Regions from separate parts of the Homo sapiens genome. Here region 1 is linked to region 2. The links are contacts of gene promoters, found by promoter capture Hi-C in blood cells and fetal thymus (Javierre and others, 2016). All regions are on one chromosome and are shown on one strand. Each heading gives the region's core, a stretch centred on a gene start or on the middle of the fragment in contact. The rest is flanking DNA. Distances are from core to core; before and after follow the strand shown.

What was found. Contacts are between HindIII fragments. The CHiCAGO score rates a contact against its expected background, and 5 or more counts as called.
Region 1: a fragment that was not itself captured here is called in contact with the fragment with the promoter of AFAP1L1 in region 2 in 2 of 17 cell types (M1 macrophages and M0 macrophages); the score reaches 5.4 in M1 macrophages.

What each region holds. Positions count from the first base shown.
Region 1 is chr5:148,748,124-148,753,238 of GRCh38, forward strand. No RefSeq gene overlaps it. Among named protein-coding and RNA genes, the nearest start is that of ADRB2, 76 kb to the right of the region's middle. The HindIII fragment of the contact is 355 bases long and covers 2,756-3,110 here.
Region 2 is chr5:149,270,408-149,275,385 of GRCh38, forward strand. It overlaps AFAP1L1 (actin filament associated protein 1 like 1), which reads left to right and starts at 1,452. Exons shown (of 19, transcript NM_152406.4): 1 at 1,452-1,577. The coding sequence starts at 1,562. RefSeq lists enhancers at 1,431-1,970, 1,971-2,512, 2,513-3,052. The HindIII fragment of the contact is 5,831 bases long and covers 1-3,767 here.

The DNA of each region.
Region 1 (5,115 bases), core at 1,683-4,182, 520 kb before region 2:
AAACACTGTCTAAAACAACAGGTATGTCTCTTTTGTCCTTTCTGTATCCCCAAATTCAAATAAACTAGGATGCACAGGTTGTCAAGTTTTTATTTTGTGAGTGTATCATCTGTGCCTGTACCTGGGATTCCATCCTGAGCCAGGCAAGAGCCTTAGTAAGGCACTGCCTTAGCCTGGAGGAGAACACACCTTCTTGTACTTATCCATTTGGAGCAGGTGCCATTTTGTTATTCCCAAAAAGGCACTCTATGCTACAGTGGCCTGCAGATTACCAAGGAATTGATAGATTTCCAAGCCATCTTTCTCCAAAGATTACCTTAAAAAAATATAATCCTTATGTTGACACGAGTTGTATATAAAAAGTTGGCACAAGTATATATTGAATTTGCTTAGAACTAAGGATGGGATTGATATCCAATACAGTTATAAAAATCCAGAAGTTCACGTATGCTTTTCCAATTTATAACTCAAAATTCTCATCAGAACCTTTCCATACGTGCCTTAGTTTTCAGCTTCTTTCAGGAATACCCAGGCTCAGTTTTCCATCAAAGACACCCAGAAAGCAGGCCCCATTGTTTCACTATTATTGTTGCCAAATCTGCCACCTCTCTCATCACTGGCCATCCCCCCTGAAGGGTTGCTTACCTAAACACCAATCTAACCTAACAAATCTTACTTCAAATTGTGCACTGTCCTAAAGAAGACATGCGAGGAATGCAGTGTTCTCTGGTTGTTGAAACATATGCATTTCAAAATCAAGGAAGCCTTCAGTATGCAGAAGTTGTTAGCTTTCTTGGCCCCTTCCTCTTTTGAGCTACAACCATTCTCTTCCATTCTACATTCCGGTAAAAATGCAAGTTGTCCATGCCTTCTAAGCTTGTGAAGTAAAAGAAGATGTGGATAATGGGAAAGCCTTAGTATCACGAAAATGAATGACTCCATAAAGTTCCAGTGGAGGTAATTAAAATGAGAAATGTTTGCATTTTGTGAACTACATGTGCTGCCCAAAATAAAATTAGGGGTACACTCTTGAATCCTGCAAGAGGAACTGATCCCAGGAAACTTCTTACAGTCAGTAGGGTGGAAACTGCCCATTCAGCTTGGTTATGGGCTTGTGCACTCGAAAAGGGGAGATAGTGAGCCCTTTAAGCAATAATACCTTATGTTGTGTGCATTTTGTAGTTCAGAAACATTTTTACATCCACTTCATCATTTGATTCTCACAGCAGTCTTAAGAGAGAGGCAGAGAAGGATTATTATTATAACCAATCTACAAAGAAACTGGGACCTACAGGGATGTGTAGTGGATATGTGATGCTGTTGCTGCCAAATGCCCCTTTACCCAGCTGCCAAATGCCCCTTTACCCTTCTCCAAGTTCACGTCTGGGGAACATCTGCTCTTGTTTTGAGTCCATGTGCTTATAGAAGATGTAACAACATAATTGATTACTCTAAGGATGGGGCATGTGAATCAGAGCCTTAAACTCTTTAGGTCTCACAAATTTCTTTAGGGATGGGCCCATAGACTTGGTTAGAGCTAACGAGATGCAAGACTTTTATTTATTGGTAGAGTGATGTGCCCACTTTCCTTCTTACCCTCACGTGATGTCTTGGAATAAAGTAAACATATAGGATAATAGAACTAGTAGAAAGAGAAAGGCTTGGTTCAGATGAAATCATTGATTTTCCCATCTTGGAGCAATTACATTTCCTTTTTTATTTTTATTTATTTATATATTTTTCGAGACGGAGTTTCACTCTTGTTGCCCAGGCTGGAGTACAATGGCATGAACTTGGCTCACTGCAACCTCTGCCTCCCCAGTTCAAGCAATTTGCCTGCCTCAGCCTCCCGAGTAGCTGGGATTACAGGCATGCACCACCATATCTGGCTAATTTTGTATTATTAGTAGAGATGGAGTTTCACCATGTTGGCCAGGCTGGTCTTGAACTCCCAACCTCAGGTGATCCACTCACCTCAGCCTCCCAAAGTGCTGAGATTACAGGCGTGAGCCACGGCACTGGGCCTACATTTCCTTTTTTTTTTTTTTTTTTTTTTTTGAGATGGAGTCTTCCTCTGTCGCCCAGGCTGGAGTGCAGTGGTGCAATCTTGGCTCACTGCAAGCTCCGCCTCCCGGGTTCACACCATTCTCCTGCCTCAGCCTCCCGAGTAGCTGGGACTACAGACGCCCACCACCATGCCTGGCTAATTTTTTGTATTTTCAGTAGAGAAGGGGTTTCACCGTGTTAGCCAGGATGGTCTCGATCTCCTGACCTCATGATCCGCCCACCTCGGCCTCCCAAACTGCTGTGATTACAGGCATGAGCCACCGCGCCCAGCCTTTTTTTTTTTTTTTTTTCTGACATTAACTTGAGCTGGGTTTATAGGCGTCTAAAACCGAAGAGTGATTCAAAATGGTTACGGTGTCCATGGCCCCATAACTTCACTTTACTTATGAGTGACATAGCTCTCTAGCTGTTATTTGGCATCACCTTTCTGCATTCGTGTGTGTTGTCGATTGGTAACTTTCCTCCATATTTTGGGGAGAAAAGTGAGAGGGTGGAAATGTTTCCAACTTCTTTTTTTGCCTCTAAAAATTTCTGGCCACTAGCCAGCCAGTGGATTCCACGCTCATGGTTCAAGTGCACACCCCCTTCCTGCCCCAACCCACAGTGGCCAGAATGCGAGGCCAGAGTGCAGAGATGGGGAAAGGCCAATGGGTGATAAGGCACAGGATATAGCCACTTGAGCAGCAGAAGCTTAGAAACGTCAGCTCCCTTAGAAAGAGGCTGTAGGCACAGTAAATCTTTCTATAGCACTAGTGCTTCTCAGTGCAGCCTCAGATATCCACAAATTCTTAGGCATCCTATGATAATGCTACAATTTTGCATTTGAATTTATCATTCAAATGTTTCTCATGCTTGGGTTACCTGCATGACTACCTTATGAGATTTCAGTGTTTGTATTTGTTGTATTTGCAAACAAATTGTATCCAAGTAATAGTACTCAGTTGTCATGAGTTAATGAAGAAAAAGGAGGCAATCTTAATGAAAAAGTGATACACTTGCATCATGTGAAAGTCAGATGACATCATGGATCTTCGTGGGACTAAAGCTTTGCAACAATGCCCACAGAGAAAGTGTGATGAAAGAACTGAGGCTCAAGAGTGAATAGACAAGTCAAACTCCAAAGAACCTCGCTAGACTAGATGTGAGCAGAGAATTCCTTTTAGCCATGTGAGATTATCCATCACAATTAATTTGGCCACTTAAATTTTAGTTGTTTTATAATTTTATTCATAGTACATTTAACTAAAAAGTTATTTTGCTACTTTGGTTATATACAACTATAAAATGAATGATTTATTCCTACTTTTATGTTTGTGTATGTGTAAATAACATTATAATAAAAGGGACATATCAATGATGGGGACTATGAGAAATTTCTTTTTTCTTAAAGGGGCTGGTCAGTGTCTCAGACTTGAAAACCACAGTGGTATAGTGTCTCTCCCAGGACTACCTGCTTTCTTCTGGCTTTCTTCTTGTGGTTTGAACCTTATAATACTCTTCCTCTTTTAAGCCACTTTATTAAGGTAGGATTGACATGCAAAAAGCTACACATATTTAATATGTACAACTTGACGAGTTTGGAGATAAATATAAAGCAAAATTTTTCCCCTCTCCTCTTATATATTATTTGTATGTATGTGTGTGTGTATGTGATAAGCTCACTTCATATAACATCTACCCATTCAGCAAATTTTTAAGTATACTATACAGTATTGTTAACTATAAGCACTATGTCGTGCAGTAAACCTTTAGAACTTATTCATTATGTATCACCAAACCTTTGAAACTTTCAACTAACACCTTCTAATATGTCCTCTCCTCAGTCCCTGGCAACCACCATTCATTGTCTGCTTCTAAGAGTTTGACTATTTTATATTTGTTGTATAAATAGTGTCATGTTGTGTTTGTCATTCTGTGTCTGGCTTATAATACTTAGCATAATATCCTCCAAGTACATCCATATGTTTGCAAATGGCAGGATTTCCTTTCCATTTTAAGGCTGAATAATATCCCATTGTATACATACATCACATTTTCTTTTTTTTACATACATTTTTTATTATACTTTAAGTTCTGGGGTTCATGTGCAGAACGTGCAGGTTTGTTACATAAGTATACATGTGCCATGGTGGTTTGCTGCACCCATCAACCCGTCATCTACATTAGGTATTTCTCCTAATGCTATCCCTCTCCTAGCCCCCCACCCCCCAACAGGCCCCAGTGTGTGATGTTCCCCTCTCTGTGTCCATGTATTCTCACTGATCAGCTCCTGCTTATGAGTGAGAACATGTGGTATTTGGTTTTCTGCTCCTGTGTTAATTTAATGAGAATGATGGCTTCCAGCATCATCCATGTCCCTGCAAAGGACATGAACTCCTCCTTTTTTATGGCTGCATAGTATTCCATGGTGTATATGTGCCACATTTTCTTTATCCAGTCTATCATTAAGGGGCATTTGGGTTGGTTCCAAGTCTTTGCTATTGTGAACAGTGCCACAATAAACATATGTGTGCATGTGTCTTTATAGTAGAATGATTTATAATCCTATGGGTATACACCCAGTAATGGGATTGCTGGGTAAAATGGTATTTCTGGTTCTAGATCCTTGAGGAATCACCACACTGTCTTCCACAATGGTTGAACTAATTTACACTCCCACCAACAGTGTAAAAGCATTCCTATTTCTCCACATCCTCTCCAGCATCTGTTGTTTCCTGACTTTTTAATGATGGCCATTCTAACTGGCATGAGATGGTATCTCACTGTGGTTTTGATTTGCATTTCTCTAATGACCAAGTGATGATGAGCTTTTTTTCATATGTTTGTTGGCTGTATAAATGTCTTTTTTTGAGAAGTGTCTGTTCACATCCTTCACCCACTTTTTGATGGGATTGTTTGTGTGTGTGTGTATGTGTGTGTGTGTGTGTGTGTGTGTGTAAATTTGTTTAAGTTCTTTGTAGATTCTGGATATTAGCCCTTTGTCAGATGGGTAGATTGCAAAAATGTTCTCCCATTCTGTAGGTTGCCTGTTCGCTCTGATAATAGTTT
Region 2 (4,978 bases), core at 202-2,701:
TGGCTGGCGCCTGTAATCCCAGCACTTTGGGAGGCCGAGGCAGGTGGATCACCTGAGGTCAGGAGTTCGAGACCAGCCTGGCCAACATGGCGAAACGTCGTCTCTACTAAAAATACAAAAATTTGCCCGGAGTGATGGTGGGCGCCTGTAATTCCAGCTACTCAGGAGGCTGAGGCAGGAGAATTGCTTGAACCCGGGAGGCAGAGGTTGCAGTGAGCCGAGATCGCGCCACTGCACTCCAGCCTCGGCGACAAAGGGAGACTTTTCAAGAAAAAAAAAAAAGAAGAAAAGAAAATATTCCCAGTCCAGGAAAGTACAGGAGGGTCTTTCCCAGGCCTTTTGTTGCCTCCATACCTCTGTGGTAGCTGTTCCCTGTTCCAGAATGTTCTAAGTAGGGAACAGTGGTCAGCTCAAAGCTGAAAACCATGGCCTGGCCCATGGTGGGAGGAGCAGTGTCTAGGAGAACAATTGGTCCTGGACTTTATGAAGGGTCTTAAAGTCAGACATTTGATATTGTGTATAAATGAGTGAGACCTATTTTCACAGGGATATACTAATAAGGTGAAGAAGTTGACATTCTTCATACAGCTTTAAACTTAGATCCCATTACTGTTCCACACTGGTCATAGCAATATTTTCTACAATCTTGCGAAAAGTACACTTATATTGCACTGTATTTTGTATGCTAAAAGTATTCATTTCCACATTTTTTATCACCCTGTTCTGCATGTTTTCACGTGTTACTCATTTTTCTATTCTTTTTCTGAATTCTCCCAGATCCTCGTTATGTTTTCACGTTTTAGTACACAAGGAACCTCAAAAGTTGAAAGTGTCCCAAGCCCTTGCCCACCTTTCAGCAAGCCTCTCTTTCTCCCTTTCCCAGGTGCTTTTCTTTCTGAAGATCTTTGTTATTATTTAACTCCTCTTTCGCAACACCACTGACATTGCACCGGCATCGCCGCGGGCCCACTGTCTGGCTTAGAAGGTGCTCAAGAAAGACCCGCGGCGAATGGAGAAGACAAGCCCAAAGCCAGGAAATGGGTGGCGGCTGCAGGGAAGGGGGTTTTGATTCCCTAGGATAAAAACGCGCTCCAACAGTCTCCGCATTCCGGCATGGAGCCGGCTGAGGGGTGCGGTGGTAAGACCCCATCGCTAGCGGAGTGCAAGCAAAGCCGCACACCTCCTGGGTCCGGGCTGGGGCAGGCCGCGCGGGCGCGGGAACGAACGCGTGCGGACGGGGAAAAGGGTCCTCCAAGCCCAAGTGGGAGCGCCGCGGAGGGCGAGCGAGCGGCAGGGCGCGGCGGGGCGTGTGCGGCACCACGGGACAGCGGGCTGCGGCCCAGGGGGCGAGGCGTGCTCGGGTCTATTCCGGGAGCGGCTCTGAGGGGCGGGCGCGGGCGCGGGCGGGGCGGGGGCTGCCGGCGAGCATCCTGTCTGGGGGAGGGGACCGCAGAGAGCGCCGGCCGCTGGGCTGGCCTGAGAGCGCAGCGCGCCGGCCGCTACCAGCCGCGCCGGAGCCCCTGCGCCCTGCGGCCCGCTCCCCGGGGACCGGGCCGGCGCCATGGACCGAGGCCAGGGTAAGAGGGGCCGCGACGCCCGCACTTGTTGCGGCGCCGGGCGGGAAAGGGAGACTGGACGATCTGAAGCCGGAGAGGAGGAGGGAGAGAGGCGGGCGGTGGGGCGGGGGCTGAGGAACGCTCGGAGGGGACTGGGAGACGCGGCGCTTATGCAAAGGTGCCTTCGGCTGCCGGGACAACCCGGTGCGTGTCAACGCCCGTGTCCTGGGGCCAACTCGCCTCTCGTGTGTGAAATCAGAGTTTTCATAGGCTAACGATTTGTAACTTCATAAAAGATCCCCCTCTAGTTTCCGGAGGACAGCGAGCTCCTCCCACCTCATTCCACTCTAAAGGGGAAAACAAGGTGTACAGGTTCAACTCCCGAAACACCCGCTGTGGGCAGCCCCTAGGGAGAAGCTCTAGGGGACCGAAGTTTGCAGCTGCCTAGGGCATTGCGAGAAGGAGGAGCGCCGTGAGCAGGCGCGCGTGTGCATGCATGTGTGCGCCAGGGAGGGAGGAGGCGGGGGTGGTTCTATCCCGCACCAGCTGTGTCCTCGGCCCAGCCCTTCTCTCTGGACCAGCGACAAAGTTGGACTAGATGGTCTCCAAGGCACCTTGCCGACCCTTTTCCAGTGTATTTGGTAGACGTTTCACAGAAGTGGAGGGGACTTACTGAAATTGAGATTGACATAAGCCGAGAGGGCAGCATTCGTAGGGGGCTAGCGCACATTTTTTTCTGTTTGTTTTGTTTTGTTTGAGACGGAGTTTCGCTCTTGTTGCCCAGGCTGGAGTGAAGTGGCGCGATCTTGGCTCACTGCAACCTCCGCCTCCCGGGTTCAAGCGATTCTCCTACCTCAGCCTCCCGAATAGCTGGGATTAGAGGCATGCGCCACCACACCCGGCTAATTTTTGTATTTTTAACAGAGACGGGGTTTCACCATATTGGCCAGGCTGGTCTGGAGCTCCTGACCTCAGGTGATCAGCCGGCCCCGGCCTCTCAAAGTGCTGGGATTACGGGCGTGAGCCACCGCGCCCGGCAGCGCACATTTTAAGTAAAGGTCTAGACATGGCCTTTGGCAATGGCCAGATGGGCATGTGTGTGTCTGTAAAGAAGTGGCCTGCTTGGACATGTGAACAGTGTCAGAGGCTGGGAATCAGAACCCCAGGGTTTCAGTCTGCACCTCTGGGATCCAAAGAGATCACAGGTGTGACGGCACTAGATAAACTAGTGAGTGCTGTGCCAACAGGCGAAGTGTTGTTGTTGTTGCTGTTATTAATAATGGAAAATTCATTCCCCTCCCCACGATAATCTCACACCTCTCCCCCATCTGCCTGTTTGCTGTGCTGAGCCCCCGAAGGGAGGAAAAAAAGAAGGGAACAGGGGCATGGGAGCAATTAGCAGGCACTGGGGCAGGGATGAGCCGGGAGCAGGTGTGGGGTAACCTCCCTTACTCCTGTTAAACGGAAAGTCAGGCTTGGCGAGCTCAGAGGGCCAGAGGGGACTCCTGGCTTCCAGTTCAACCTCCTCACTTGCCCCTCCCCAACAGAGAATACTGCATTCACCTTCTCCTTCAGGGACTGGGAAGGGCAGGCAGGAAAGAGAGTGGGCTTCTGTTTGGTTCTTTAGCAACTGAGGCCTAGATTTGTAAAGCAGTTCTCACCTGTTAACTGATTTCTAGGCAAGTGTGAAGAGTGTACATCAGGGAGGAAAAACAGAGAGAAGAGGCACCTCTCACACCCCTCAGTCCTGCTGTTCCCACCTCCTGCATAATGCGTCTAAAGCAAATACCACCATCCCCCCTCCCCTTCACACTCCTAGTCGCCCGCCACCTCCCCAACCTCTCCACCACCCCCACTCCCCACCAGTTTTTAAATACCAACCTGTCTGATCTCCAGTACAAAAATCCATACCTAGGCCTACCCAGGCCTGTGGAAAGTGCACTGTGTCATCCTAAGACAGAGTGACAATAGTTCACTTCACTTTAAATGCTTGGTAACCAACAACCTCCACGTCAGAAGGCTGCCTCCAGAGCACTCTTCCTAGGAAGTCAGACTTCCCAGGAATCCCTTGGTGCTGAGAGCCTAGGAGGGCTCTGACCTGCTCTCTCCCTGCAGGCTTTTCTAGCCTGCTATCTTTCTTTACACCTCTTGTCACAACTTTATAGACATAGTTATCTGACTCTTTAGTGTCGGCCTCCCTACCCAGAAGTAAGCTTCAGGAAGGCAAGGAGTGGATCTATTGTGATCAATCTGCTGACACTGCACCTGGCACATAGTGCACAGTGAGGAGCTCCAACAGTGGTTTAATTAGTAAAATACAACACACTTTATAGTGCACCTCGAATTGATTACTTGTACAGCAATACTTAGTAGTATTCTCTTTTTAAAAATCAACATTGCTGTACAAGTAATCAGTTTGAGAATAGTACTAAGTATACTCAGATCAGTTCTTGGTGACTTACAAAGGCCATCTCAAGTAAAGTGGTCTTGTGGCTGGGCACACAAGATCAGTTTAACTGTCTGGCTCCTCAGTTCTCTACTCTGATAAATAATTGCAAACACAACCGTTTATGAATCAGAATGAAAAATCTGCATGCATTTTTAAGATAAAACATGAGACTTCAAGTATTCCAGGCTGGGCACAGTGGCTCACGCCCATAACCCCAACACTTTGGGAGGCCAAGGTGGGTGGATCACTTGAGGTCAGGAGTTCGAGACCAGCCTGCCCAACATGGTGAAACCACATCTCTACTAAAAATACAAAAATGAGCTGGGTGTGGTGGCGGGCGCCTGTAATCCCAGCTACTCGAGAGGCTGCGACAGGAGAGGAGGCATCGCTTGAACCTGGGAGGTGGAGGTTGCAGTGAGCCGAGATCGAGCCATTGCACTCCAGCCTGGGCGACACAGCAAGATTCTGTCTCAAAAAAAAAAAAAAAAAAGTATTCCAGCAGACCTTTCTTGTACCCCTGTTCCCAGGCAGGTGTGCACTCTCTTCTGTCATCAGGGAAGGCTTAAGAAGCACAGGTCTCATTTCAGCCTCCTGCCTACCATGTGAGAGATGGGACTGTCATGCCCAGCTGACTAGGGAAGAAAACCACACATTGGTATTCACGATAATAACTGAAATCATCAAACTGTTGCCATGTGCCAGGCACTGTCCTCAGCTTCTTATGTGGCTCCTCTCAGAACAACCCATAGGATGGGGCCTATGAGCTGGGACTATCATGAATCATACCTCAGGGGAAAGCAGGCTCAGCCAGGGTATTAGCCAGCAAGGGCTGCAATAACAGAATACACAGACTGGGTGGCTGCAACAACAGAAATTAATTTTCTCACAGTTCCAGATGCTGGAAGTCTAAGATCAAGGTGCAGTCAGGGTTAGTGTCGGGTGGGACCTCTCTTCCTGGCTTGTAGGGACACTT